Regions from separate parts of the Homo sapiens genome. Here region 2 is linked to region 1. Evidence: promoter capture Hi-C in human tissues and cell types (Jung and others, 2019). All regions are on one chromosome and are shown on one strand. Each heading gives the region's core, a stretch centred on a gene start or on the middle of the fragment in contact. The rest is flanking DNA. Distances are from core to core; before and after follow the strand shown.

Region 1 (5,695 bases), core at 2,301-4,800:
GCCTGTAATCCCAGCTACTTGAAAAGCTGAGGCAGGAGAATCACTTGAACCTGGGAGGCGGAGGTTGCAGTGAGCCAAGGTCATGCCATTGTACTCCAGCCTGGGCAACAAGAGTGAAACTCTGTCTCAAAAAAAAAAAAAAGAAAGAAAGAAAGAAATAGAGGGGATGGTAACAAAAGGGGTGCATGTTGGGCAAGGGTCTCCATAAAATAGAAGAAACTCATGTGTGTTTAAGTCCCTGCTTAGAAGGCAAATCATGCTCTACCTCCGGACAACAGGAGCTCTAGGACCCCAAGTCTGCGTCCCCAGACTTGGTTCCTCTGAAGACCCCACACCAGGCTGCACATCCAGGGAGAAGAGGTAGGTCCCTCCAACAAACGAAGGTTGGTCCCAAGATATTAAACAAGTAGAGTGTTGTATCCTTAGATGCTTTCCCACTGCTGCTGTCTAAGGTGGGTATCTGGGGTAGAGCCCTGGTGGGTGGGCAGGGGCTCTCCGTAAACTGGAATGGAGCAGAGTAAGGCTGGAGACTGTGCTGTCTTGACCTCTGCCCAAGATGACCAACAACCTGGGGCTTCCCCAGCCACTTAACTGCTTCCTGCTGAAAAGAGCAGGGATTGGGAGAGAAACTGCCACCTGGCACCTTTGGACAATTACCATGGCAATCACAGGCCAGGCATTTTATTCCAGTCATTGCCTGGGAACGCTCCTTCCACATGTCTTGCTTTCTGTGTTACAGGCTTATTACTGTACAGCCTCCAGCCCTCCACTTTCATCTTGCAAAACAAGGTTCTTTCTTTGATGTCTGGAAGGATTTGCCCCGGAATGTCAGAAATTTGAGACTGTATGCAAGTGCACAATAAACAATCTGAAATTGAAACTGATCCAGTGGAGAGTGCTGGAATTAGGGAAGAGCAGTGGATATGTCCTGCGAGGTCAGAGCAGATACAGGCCAAGATAGTTTGCCTCCCAGCTCCAAGGGGTCTCCCTACCCTCAGTGAGTGGGCTTGGGAGGTAGATGCTTGGGATGCTGCATCTTTGGTCAATACCTTGACCAAACTGACACATGACCCAGTTAGTTTCGAGATAGACTGGGTCACAACAATCATTCTTCACCACCTGCAACCCTAGGACTGCTGATAACCCTTACCCACAGGAATTATAGGGCCCTGCTGCTCCAAAAAGATAGGATCTGAGTCAACAAGAAAGAGAAACAAGGACAACATATTTTGAACTCCTGACTAGCTTGGCGTATGGTTCTCAGCCCAGCCACACATTAGAACCAACTGTGGGGCTTTTAAAAAATGCCCAGTATCTGGACTCCACTGTAGTAGATTTAAATTCAGTTGAGGAGGAGCCAGGGCATCTGTTTTTTTTCTTAAGTATTTCAAGTGTGGAGAACCATTGGCTGCTCAAATAAGTGGCCAGGCTCCACACCTGGTCCCAAGGTTTCCTAGTTGTGTGACCTTGGGCAAGTTACTCAACATCTGTAAACCTCCATTCCCTCAGCTGTAAAGCAGTACCTGCTGGCCAGGCATGGTGGCTCACACCTGTAATCCCAGCATTTTGAGAAGCCAAGATTGGAGGATCGTTCGAGCCCAGGAGTTCAAGACCAACCTAGGCAACATAGCAAGATCTCATCTCTATAAAAAAAGAAAAACAGTACTTGCTTAATGGAGTTGTGGGAAGGATTAAATGAAAGAATGCATGTCAGTGCCTGGCATTGAGCCTAGCACGTAGTTGTGTTCAGAATGTTATTCTTATTGCTGGAACAGCAGTTCTTACCTCTCTAGAATCCAGGTTTAAAGGTATATAAGTAAGAAAGTGCCGTTTCCAGTAACCAGGGACCAAGACCTGTCCTTTTCCCAGAGTGGGGTTGAAGAGTGTTAGTCAGAGCCAGGGTCAAAGATTGCTTAGGTCCTGGTATTGGCACTCAACTTTGGTTACTCTTAACATTCTAGTCCCGCACTGTCCATTCTGAAATAACGAAAATATTCTATATTTGTGCTGACAACATAGTAGTCACTAGCCACATGGGGCTATTTAACACTTGAGATGTGGCCCATGTTGGCTGGGTGCGGTGGCTCACGCCTGTAATCCCAGCACTTTGGGAGGCTGAGGTGGGCAGATCACCTGAGGTCGAGAGTTCGAGACCAGCCTGACCAACATGGAGAAACCCCGTCTCTACTAAAAATACAAAATTAGTCGGGCACAGTGGCGCATGCCTGTAATCCCAGCTACTCGGGAGGCTGAGGCAGGAGAATCGCTTGAACTTGGGAGGCGGAGGTTGCAGTGAGCCAAAATCACGGCATTGCACTCCAGGCTGGTTTACAGAGTAAGACTGTCTCAAAAAAAGGCAAAAGAAAAAAGAAATGTGGCCCATGTGACTGGGGAACTGAATAATTTTATTTAATTATAACTCATTTAAAGTCAAACAGCTACACATGGCTGATGGCTACAGAATTGGAAAATGTAGCTCTAGGCTGGGCATGGTGGTGCACACCTGTAATCCCAGCACTTTGAGAGGCCGAGGCAGGCAGACTGTTTGAGCCAAGGAGTTCAAGACCAGCCTGGGCAACATGGTGAAAAGCCGTCTCTACAAAAAAAAATACAAAAAAATTTGCCAGGCGTGGTGGTGCGCACCTGTAGTCCCAGCTACTCAGGAGGCTGAAGTGGGAGGATGGCTTGAACCCAGCAGGCAGAGCAGTGAGCTGAGATTGCACTACTGCATTCCAGCCTGTGCAACAGGGCAAGACTTTGTCTCAAAAACAAACAAACAAACAAAAAACAAAAGAAAGAAAGAAAGAAAGAAACAAAGAAAAAGAAAAGAAACGAAAATGTAGCTCCGGACATGTATGTGCATTGAACATGGGAGTAAATAAAGATATAAAATTTTGAAACATAGTGTGACCAAGCATTTTCCCTTCTATTGTCTCATTTGAGCCTCAGAAAGTCCTATAAAGGAGATATGACAGGCACTAACAGCCCTATTATAGATTAGGGATGTTAAAAGACCTTCCCCAGATCACAAAGAGCATTAGAGGCACAGACAAGCCTAGAGGGAGGCAGACTTCTGGACTTCAAACCGATGCTTCTTTCTTTCATCAGTTACAAAAGCTTTCTCTTCACGGAAGCACCTCACATCAGCCCTCCAGCTCCTGTGAAGGTCTCAGTGCCCTGGGTGGACCCCAGGCCCCCATCTCCTCCCACTATCCGCTGTGCTACCTACCTGGAAGAGCTCCTGAACTTGAGCATCCACCCATTGCTCCATCTCCAGCCAGCGCTGGAGCTGGCCCCGGTCATACTTCACTGTCAGGCGGCTGGGTCTCCGGGACCTGGGTATCTTGGAGGAGTCCGGGTGGGACTTGGACTCTGAGTCTGTGGATGATGTCCTTCTCCTCCCAGAAGCCCAGTGGACCTTCTTACATGGGTTCTCCCCATCTGGGCTGGGAGATGTGCAGGAAGCAGGGCTTGAAGACAGCATGGAAGTATTGGTCTGGGCAAGGAGCTGGGAAAAACCGCCAGTTCTGAGCAGAGCCACAGAGGGAAGTGAGGAGACAGAGAACAGGAGAGGCCAGCAGAGAAGAAATGAAGGCAGGAGGAGGGCCAAGGCTCCCAGGGAGGGGCAAGGGCAAAGATCAATAGGACTTTGGTGCTGGGAATGCCAGTCTCCTGGCTCCTCACTGCCAGCCAGTGAGTGGCACTCCAGAGCCATGCCCCAGCCTCCCTTTCTGCAGCTTCTAGGGCCCAAAGTGGCATAAACTGCAGATGAGCAAAGGTCAAGAGGCTGCCATGCCCAGGGAGGAGGAAGGGGCCCTGGGGTCCTGAAGGGTACAGGGCTCCAATCGCTGCTCTATGGCCAGCTCTGGAATGGGACCTGAGTCGTTCTCACCTGAGATCCCTCTGTATCCCACCTTCCTGGGGCTGGATCCACTCTGGGCTCTGAGAAGCTGTGGTCAGATTCCGCAGAAGCAGGGTCCCTGGCTGGCAGGGATTCTTACTCAGAGCGTAGCACTACTGGGGGCAGAGCCCCAGCTGGTAGATAGAGTTGGAGGTCAGTTATTGATGGCTCCCGTAGGACCAGTGCCCCCAGTGTCTGGGTGTGTCCGAATGTAAACTGCTATCAGCCTGGCCTATAAAGGCAGTTTACCTGCTTGTAAAGGCAAATTTATCAAGACTTGTCTACTATGCCCGCTCCCCTGAGGCAACTGCTTAGGAAGCCATGTTTATTACCACGTGACCCTCCCCCGATTCATGTATTTGCTGACACAGAGGAAACCTGCAAACCTAACTTATACACAGGTGTCAGGGACTAATACTTCCAGGCATACATACTTGCATTCTAAGGCAGGGTATTTTTGTTTAGTCTTTTATAATGAAAATTTCTAAACTTTAAAAAAAAAAAGTGACAGAAGAACACTGTAATTTTTTTTTTTTTTTTTTTGAGATGGAGTCTCGCACTGTCACCCAGGCTGGGGGGCAATGCTGCGATCTTGGCTCACTGCAACATCCGCCTCCCAAGTTCAAGCAATTCTCCTGCCTCAGCCTCCCAAGAAGCTGGGATTACAGGCGCCCACCACCATGCCCGGATAATTTTTTGTATTTTTAGTAGAGACGAGGTTTCACTATGTTGCCCAGGCTGGTCTCAAATGCCTGACCTCATGATCCACCCGCCTCGGCCTCCCAAAGTGGTGGGATTACTGGAGTGAGCCACCGTGCCCAGCCTGTAATTTTTTTAAAATGGGGCCAGGCATGGTGGCTCACGCCTGTAATCCCAGCACTCTGGGAGGCCGAGGCGCGTGGATTGCTTGAGCTCAGGAGTTCAAGACCAGCCTGGGCAAAATGGTGAAATTCTCTCTCTACCAAAAAAAAAAATAATAATAATACAAAAAATTAGCTGCTTTGGGAGACCCAGGCGGGAAGATTGCTTGAGGCCAGTAGTTCAAGACCAGTCCGGGCAACACAGTGAGATCTTGTCTCCATTAAAAAATGTAAACAATGGGCCAGGCACGGTGGCTCATGCCTGTAATCCCAGCACTTTGGGAGGCTGAGGTGGACAGATGACTTGAGGTCAGGAGTTTGAGATCAGCCTGGCCAACATGGCAAAACCCTGTCTCTACTAAAAATACAAAAATTAGCCGGGCGTGGTGGCACACGTCTGTAGCCCCAACTATTCAGGAGGCTGAGGGAGGAGAATCGCCTGGGCCCAGGAGGCGGAGGTTGCAGTGAGCCGAGATCATGCCACTGCACTCCAGCCTGGGTGACAGAGCAAGACCCCGTCTCAAAAAAAAAAAAAAAAAAAAAGTAAAAAATGAAAAGCAAGATTACTCAGATATGGTGGTGCACACCTGTCATCCTAGCTGCTTGGAAGGTGGGAAAATCACTTCAGCCCAGGAGTTCAAGGCTACAGTGAGCTACAATGGCAACACTGCACTTAAGCATGGGTGACAGAGCAAGACCCTGTCTCAAAAAAGGAAAAAGGCGAATGGATGACAGTTTAATGATGAAATTTTAGGCCCTCACTTAAGAAGATAAGGGAGGTGTTTGAGTGGCTGGAAACTAAGATGGCAGCCAGGAAAAGCCCAGGCTTTGGAGGAAGGCTGACAATCTGAGTTCAACTCAGCTTTGCCCTGCATTGGTTTTATAATCCTTGGCCAAGTTTCATAGCCTGTTTTCACATCTGCAGATTGGGCTT
Region 2 (6,121 bases), core at 1,208-3,707, 190 kb before region 1:
CTTGGCCTCCCAAAGTGTTGGGATTACAGGCGTGAGCCACCGCGCTGGCTGCCATTTCTTTTTTTTCTTTCTTTCTTTTTTTTTTTTGAGACGCAGTTTCGCTCTTGTTGCACAGGCTGGAGTGCAATGGCACTGTCTCTGCTCACTGCAACCTCCGCCTCCCGATTTCAAGTGATTCTCCTGCCTCAGCCTCCTGAGTAGCTGGGATTACAGGCATGCGCCACCACACCCGGCTAATTTTGTATTTTGTATTGTTGGTCAGGCTGGTCACCAACTCCCAAACTCAGGTGATCCGCCTGCCCTGGCCTCCCAAAGTGCTGGGATTACAGGCATGAGCCTCTGCACCCAGCCTGCCATTTCTTTTTTAACCAGTACATATAGTTTTGATTTTTATGTATAATTCTAGCCTTAAAAATCCTTTTTTTTTTTTTGGCTGGGTGCAGTGGCTCATGCTCATAATCCCAGCACTTTGGGAGACCAGAGGAAGAGGATCACTTGATCTGGGAGTTTGAGACCAGCCTGGGCAACGTAGCAAAACCCCATAACTAAAAAAAAAAATTTTGGCCGGGCACGATGGCTCATGTCTGTAATCCCAGCACTTTGGGAAGCCGAGGTGGGCAGATCACCTGAGGCCAGGAGTTCGAGACCAGCCTGGCCAACATGGTGAAACCCCATATCTACTAAAGATACAAAAGTAGCCGGGCGTGGTGGCACACACCTGTAATCCCAGCTACTGTGGAGGCTGAGGCAGGAGAATCGCTTGAAGCCACGAGGTGGAGGTTGCAATGAGCTGAGATCACGCCACTTCACTCCAGCCTGGGCAACAAGAGCAAAACTTCATCTCAAAAAAAAAAAAAGGAAAAAAAAAATTTTTTTTAATTAGCCAAGCATGGTGGCTCACATGCACCTGTAGTCCCAGCTAATTGGCAGGCTGAGGTTGGGGGACTGCTTGATCCTGGGAGGCTGAGGCTGCAGTGAGCCGTGATCACACCATTACATTGCAGCCTAGGTGACAGCTAGACCCCATCTCAAAAAAAAAAAGGCTAGTCATAGCTGGAGACAGTGGCTCACATCTATAATCCCAGTGCTTTGGGAGGTTGAGGCAGGAGAATCACTTGAGGCCAGGAATTCGAAACTATCCGGGGCAACATAGCAAGACCCCATCTCTACAAAAAATTTTAAAATTAGCCAGGCGTGGTGACACATCTGTAGTACTAGCTACTGGAGAGGATGAGGCAGGAAGATCGCTTGAGCCTAGGAGTTGGAGATTCAGTTGTAGGGTTTTGTTTGATTTTTGTAAATAAGGAGCTGACTTGATTTTTTTCTTTTCTTTTCTTTTTTTTCTTTTTTTCTTTTCTTTTTTTTTTTTTTTTGAGACGGAGTCCTGCTCTGTTGCCCAGGCTGGAGTGCAGTGGCGCAATCTCGGCTCACTGCAGCCTACACCTCCTGGGCTCAAGTAATTCTCCTGCTTCAGCTTCTGGAGTAGCTGGGACTACAGGTGTGCGCCACCATGCCCAGCTAATTTTTGAATTTTTAATAGAGACAGGGTTTCACCTATTGGCCAGGCTGGTCTCAAACTCCTGACCTCAAGTGATCTGCCTGCCACCTCCCAAAGTGCTGGGATTACAGGTGTGATCCACTGTGCCCGGCCCTGACTTGATTTTTTCAATACTGCATCAAGGACATCAAAGCCATTGGATTAGTTCTATAAAACATTTTTAAATAACCAAATTTTCACTGCCTTATTTTATAATTGGAGGATGTGCCAGAAAAGTTTGAGTTCAGCCTGGGATAGAGTAAGGATTATGGCTAGAAAATGGGAATAGTTACTAGGAAACTGGCTTAAAAAAAAAAATTAAAAAGGGGTTCCTGGTAAGTTGAATTTTTAGGTAATATTTATTTTCTTAACGCATAGCCATTTTCAAACTACTGTCATTCCCATGTGAGTAAGAACAACCACAGTTCCAGTAAAATCTATGGGGAAAGGGACTTAGAAGTCAGAGACTTGAATTCAGATTCCAATTTTTTGTTTACTGGCATTATGAACTTGAGTATTCAAATTTTTCTTTGTAGAACATTTTAAAATAGGCACTCTGAAATTTGAGTTAATTCTTATATATGGTTTTGTCTGCAAGATACCAGTTCTCAGGGACTGAATTTTTTTTTCCAGTTTACTGTAAACACACCACCTACTCCAGAAGACCTGATGTTAAGTCAATATGTTTACCGACCCAAGATACAGATTTATAGAGAAGATTGTGAGGCTCGTCGCCAAAAGATTGAAGAGTATGAAAGCTTTAATTTTTATGTGTGTTTTTTTGAGGGGAGGGATCAGTTAATAGTTTGTGTGGTAAGGTTTTGATTAGAATAATGCTGGCATGGGGTAAAATTGATGGCATTAATTGGCAGTGTGATGTGGGAGAAAGAGCTTTGGCCTCGTAGTCAGATTGAAGCTCAGTCTTGGCTTCAACACTAGCTGTGTAACCTTGGGTAAGTCATTTAACCTTCATTTCCAAATCCTTAAAGTGAGGATAATAAAACCTACTCAGCCAATAGATATGAACAATAGAAATGGCGTATATAAATTGTTTTCATACCATTCTTAGGAAAAGGTAGGTCCTTAATAAGAATAAACAGTAATTTTTAGATTATGATATCATAAGTTGATTGCTAGAGAACACCTTCAAAAGAAAATATCCTTTAGAGATTTACGCAAGTTGAGTAACCTTAATCTGGAAATCGGAAATCTGAAATGCTCCAAAATCCAAAATGTTTTAGCCACCAACATGATGCAAGTGGAAAATTCCACACATAAATACGTAAGTACTTTACACAAACTTTGTTTCATGCACAAAATTGTTTAAAATATTGTATAAAATTACCCTCAAACTATGTGTACAAGGTATATATGAAACATAAATGAATTTCACGTTTAGGCTTGGGTTTCACCCGCAAGGTATCTCTTATATCCAAATAGTCCAAAATCCAAAACACTTCTGGTCCCAAGCATTTCAGATAAGGGATACTCAATCTATATATAGTGCCTGAAATCAGATTGCCTTTGAGTTTATAATTTTACCACATTTACGCTTGTTTACATATATAAAAGAACATGGTTTTACGTAGAAGATAGCTCATTGCTATGGTATACGTAAATACTGCAGACTGATTTACAAATTAGATACATCTAGATTCCCTTAGGTAAATCAGACTTTAAAACTCAAAGTAATGTTTATGTCATACTTATCTGGGACTATCCAACTAAATTTGAACCAATCTAACAGAAAAGAAATAAAATAGTCTTTAAGAATTATCTGGGTTTTAGAAGTAGAAGGAAAAGAATATTAAAAATTTTTCAAAAGAATTATGTAGTTTTGGCTGGGCGCAGTGGCTCACGCCTGTAATCCCAGCACTTTGGGAGGCTGAGGCAGGTGGATCACGAGGTCAGGAGATCGAGACCATCCTGGCTAACACAGTGAAACCCCGTCGCTACTAAAAATACGAAAAATTAGCCGGGCGCGGTAGCAGGCACTTGTAGTCCCAGCTACTCGGGAGGCTGAGGCGGGAGAATGGCGCGAACCCAGGAGGTGGAGCTTGCAGTGAGCTGAGATCGCACCACTGCACTCCAGCAGCTTGGGCCAAAGAGCGAGACTCTGTCTCAAAAAAAAAAAAAAGAATTACGTAGTTTTAAAATCAGAAATTTAAGATATTTCAGATTTTCCTGATTCTGTTCATTTAACAAATATTTATTGAGCACCTACATCTGCCAGGTACTATACTATGCACTGGGGTTCATCGCTGAACAAAACTGGCAAATTTTGTATCTTCATGTTGTTGGAAAGAGTTGGCTGTGTCAGGATTTCCCTGAGAATGTTTGTTTGTTTGTTTCTTTGTTTATTTTAATGAGACAGAGTCTCGCTCTGTTGCCCAGGCTGGAGTGCAGTAGCGCCATCTCGGCTCACTGCAAGCGCTGCATCCTGGGTTCAAGCGATTCTCTTGCCTCAGCCTCCTGGGTAGCTGGGATTACAGGTGCCCACCAACATGCCAGGCTAATTTTTGTATTTTTAGTAGAGATGGGGTTTCACCATGTTGGCCAGGCTGGTCCTGAACTCCTGACCTCAAGTGATCTACCCACCTCGGCCTCCCAAAGTGCTGGGATTACAGGCGTGAACCACCACACCAGCTGAGAATGTTTATTTTGAATGAAACGGGATCTTACACTCAATGAGCGGTAGGTTTAGTTGTGCTTTACTGTTTGATTTTGCATCTGTATGCCTGCATATATCCTCTACAAGAGATATTCTATCTCTGTTAGAAATTTATTTTCTCCATTTATTAACAAAAGACTAATATATATTGAGACTATCATAACTTTGCTGCTTTTATAGATGCTATTCTAAAAATGTGAAATATGCCTTTGAACTGAATTGGAAACTTTTATTTTATTTTTTATTTTTATTTTTGAGACAGAGCCTCACTCTGTCACCCAGGCGCGATCTCGGCTTACTGAGAACTCTGCCTCCTGGGTTGACGCCATTCTCCTGCCTCAACCTCTACTACTACAGGCACCCGCCACCATGCCTGGCTAATTTTTTCTATTTTTAATAGAGACGAGGTTTCACCGTATTAGCCAGGATGGTCTCGATCTCCTGACCCCCGTGATCCACCTGCCTTAGCCTCCCAAAGTCCTGGGATTACAGGCGTGAACCACCGCGCCTGGCCGGGAACTTTTATTAAAATAATACATAAAAAAATTAGCTGGGCGTGGTGGCACGCGCCTGTAGTCCTAGCTACTCGGGAGGCTAAGGCAAGAGAATTGCTTGAACCCAGAAGGTGGAGATTGCAGTGAGCCAAGATTGCGCCACTGCACTCCAGCCTGGCAGCCTGGCAACAGGGTGAGACTCCGTCTCAAAAAAATAAAATAATAATAGCTACAACTTTATAGCAGCGATCATTGACAGACCTTAGGATTCTTTATAAGCGAAATGTTTCACATTGGAACAAGTTGGTACGTTGAGATGAGAATTCTGTTAGTGATAGAAGTTTTTTTGATGTATGACATTCTTGAACTACTATTCTTCAAGTGAATAATCAGGCTTTTCTTGAATGAATTCCCCTCTTATTATGTAGAAAAAAACTAGGAAGAGTTAAATTAAACATGATTGTAGACCTGAGCTGGTTCATTCAAGCTGGCTTCTGAACCCTACGCTTGAAGAGGTGGCCTGCCCCTCCACACTTGTGGGTATTTCTAGTCGGATGGGACGAGAGACTGAGAAAAGAAATAAGACACAGAGACAAAGTATAGAGAAACAACAGTGGGCCCAGGGGACCGGCTCTCAGCATACCAAGGACCTGCACTGGCACCGGTCTCTGAGTTCCCTCAGTTTTTATTGATTATTATCTTCATTATTTCAGCAAGAAGGAATGTAGTAGGAGAGCAGGGTGATAATAAGGACAAAAACATGTAAGCAATAGAATCTACGTCATAGTTAAGTTTAAGAGAAGGTATGGTGACTGGATGTACACCTAAGCCAGATTTATGTTTCTCTCCACTCAAACATCTCAGTGGAGTAAAGAATAACAAGGCAGCATTGCTGCAAACATGTCTCGCCTCCCACCATAGGGCGGTTTTTCTCCTATCTCAGAATCGAACAAATGTACAATCGAGTTTTATACAAAGACATTCAGTTCCCATGGGCAGGCAGGAGACAGTGGCCTTCCTCTATCTCAACTGCAAGAGGCTTTCGTCTTTTACTAATCCACCTCAGCACAGACCATTTACGGGTGTCGGGCTGGGGGACAGTCAGGTCTTTCTCATCCCACGAGGCCATATTTCAGACTATCACATGGGGAGAAACCTTGGACAATACCCCGCTTTCAAGGGCAGAGGTCCCTGCGGCTTTCCGCAGTGCATTGTGCCCCTGGTTTATTGAGACTAGAGAATAGCGATGACTTTTACCAAGTATACTGCTTGTAAACATTTTGTCAACAAGGCACGTCCTGCACAGCCCTAGATCCCTTAAACTTTGATTTCATACAACACATGTTTTTGTGAGCTTCAGGTTGGGTCAAAGTGGCTGGGGCAAAGTGGTTGGGGCAAAGCTACAAATTAACAACATCT

Evidence for each region. The method cuts DNA at HindIII sites, captures the fragments that hold promoters and counts their contacts. A contact is called where the count stands out against the background at its distance.
Region 2: a fragment that was not itself captured here is called in contact with the fragment with the promoter of PPP1R14D in region 1 in 3 of the 25 tissues and cell types used here (IMR-90 fibroblasts, adrenal gland and aorta).

Annotation. Positions count from the first base shown.
Region 1 is chr15:40,825,158-40,830,852 of GRCh38, forward strand. PPP1R14D (protein phosphatase 1 regulatory inhibitor subunit 14D) reads right to left here and starts at 3,551. Exons shown (of 4, transcript NM_017726.8): 1 at 3,230-3,551. The coding sequence starts at 3,484. RefSeq lists enhancers at 57-557, 558-1,058, 1,054-1,348 and a silencer at 1,054-1,348. The HindIII fragment of the contact is 14,686 bases long and covers 1-5,695 here.
Region 2 is chr15:40,638,742-40,644,862 of GRCh38, forward strand. KNL1 (kinetochore scaffold 1) reads left to right here. Exons shown (of 26, transcript NM_144508.5): 14 at 2,171-2,286. Among named protein-coding and RNA genes, the nearest start is that of KNL1, 48 kb to the left of the region's middle. The HindIII fragment of the contact is 3,641 bases long and covers 638-4,278 here.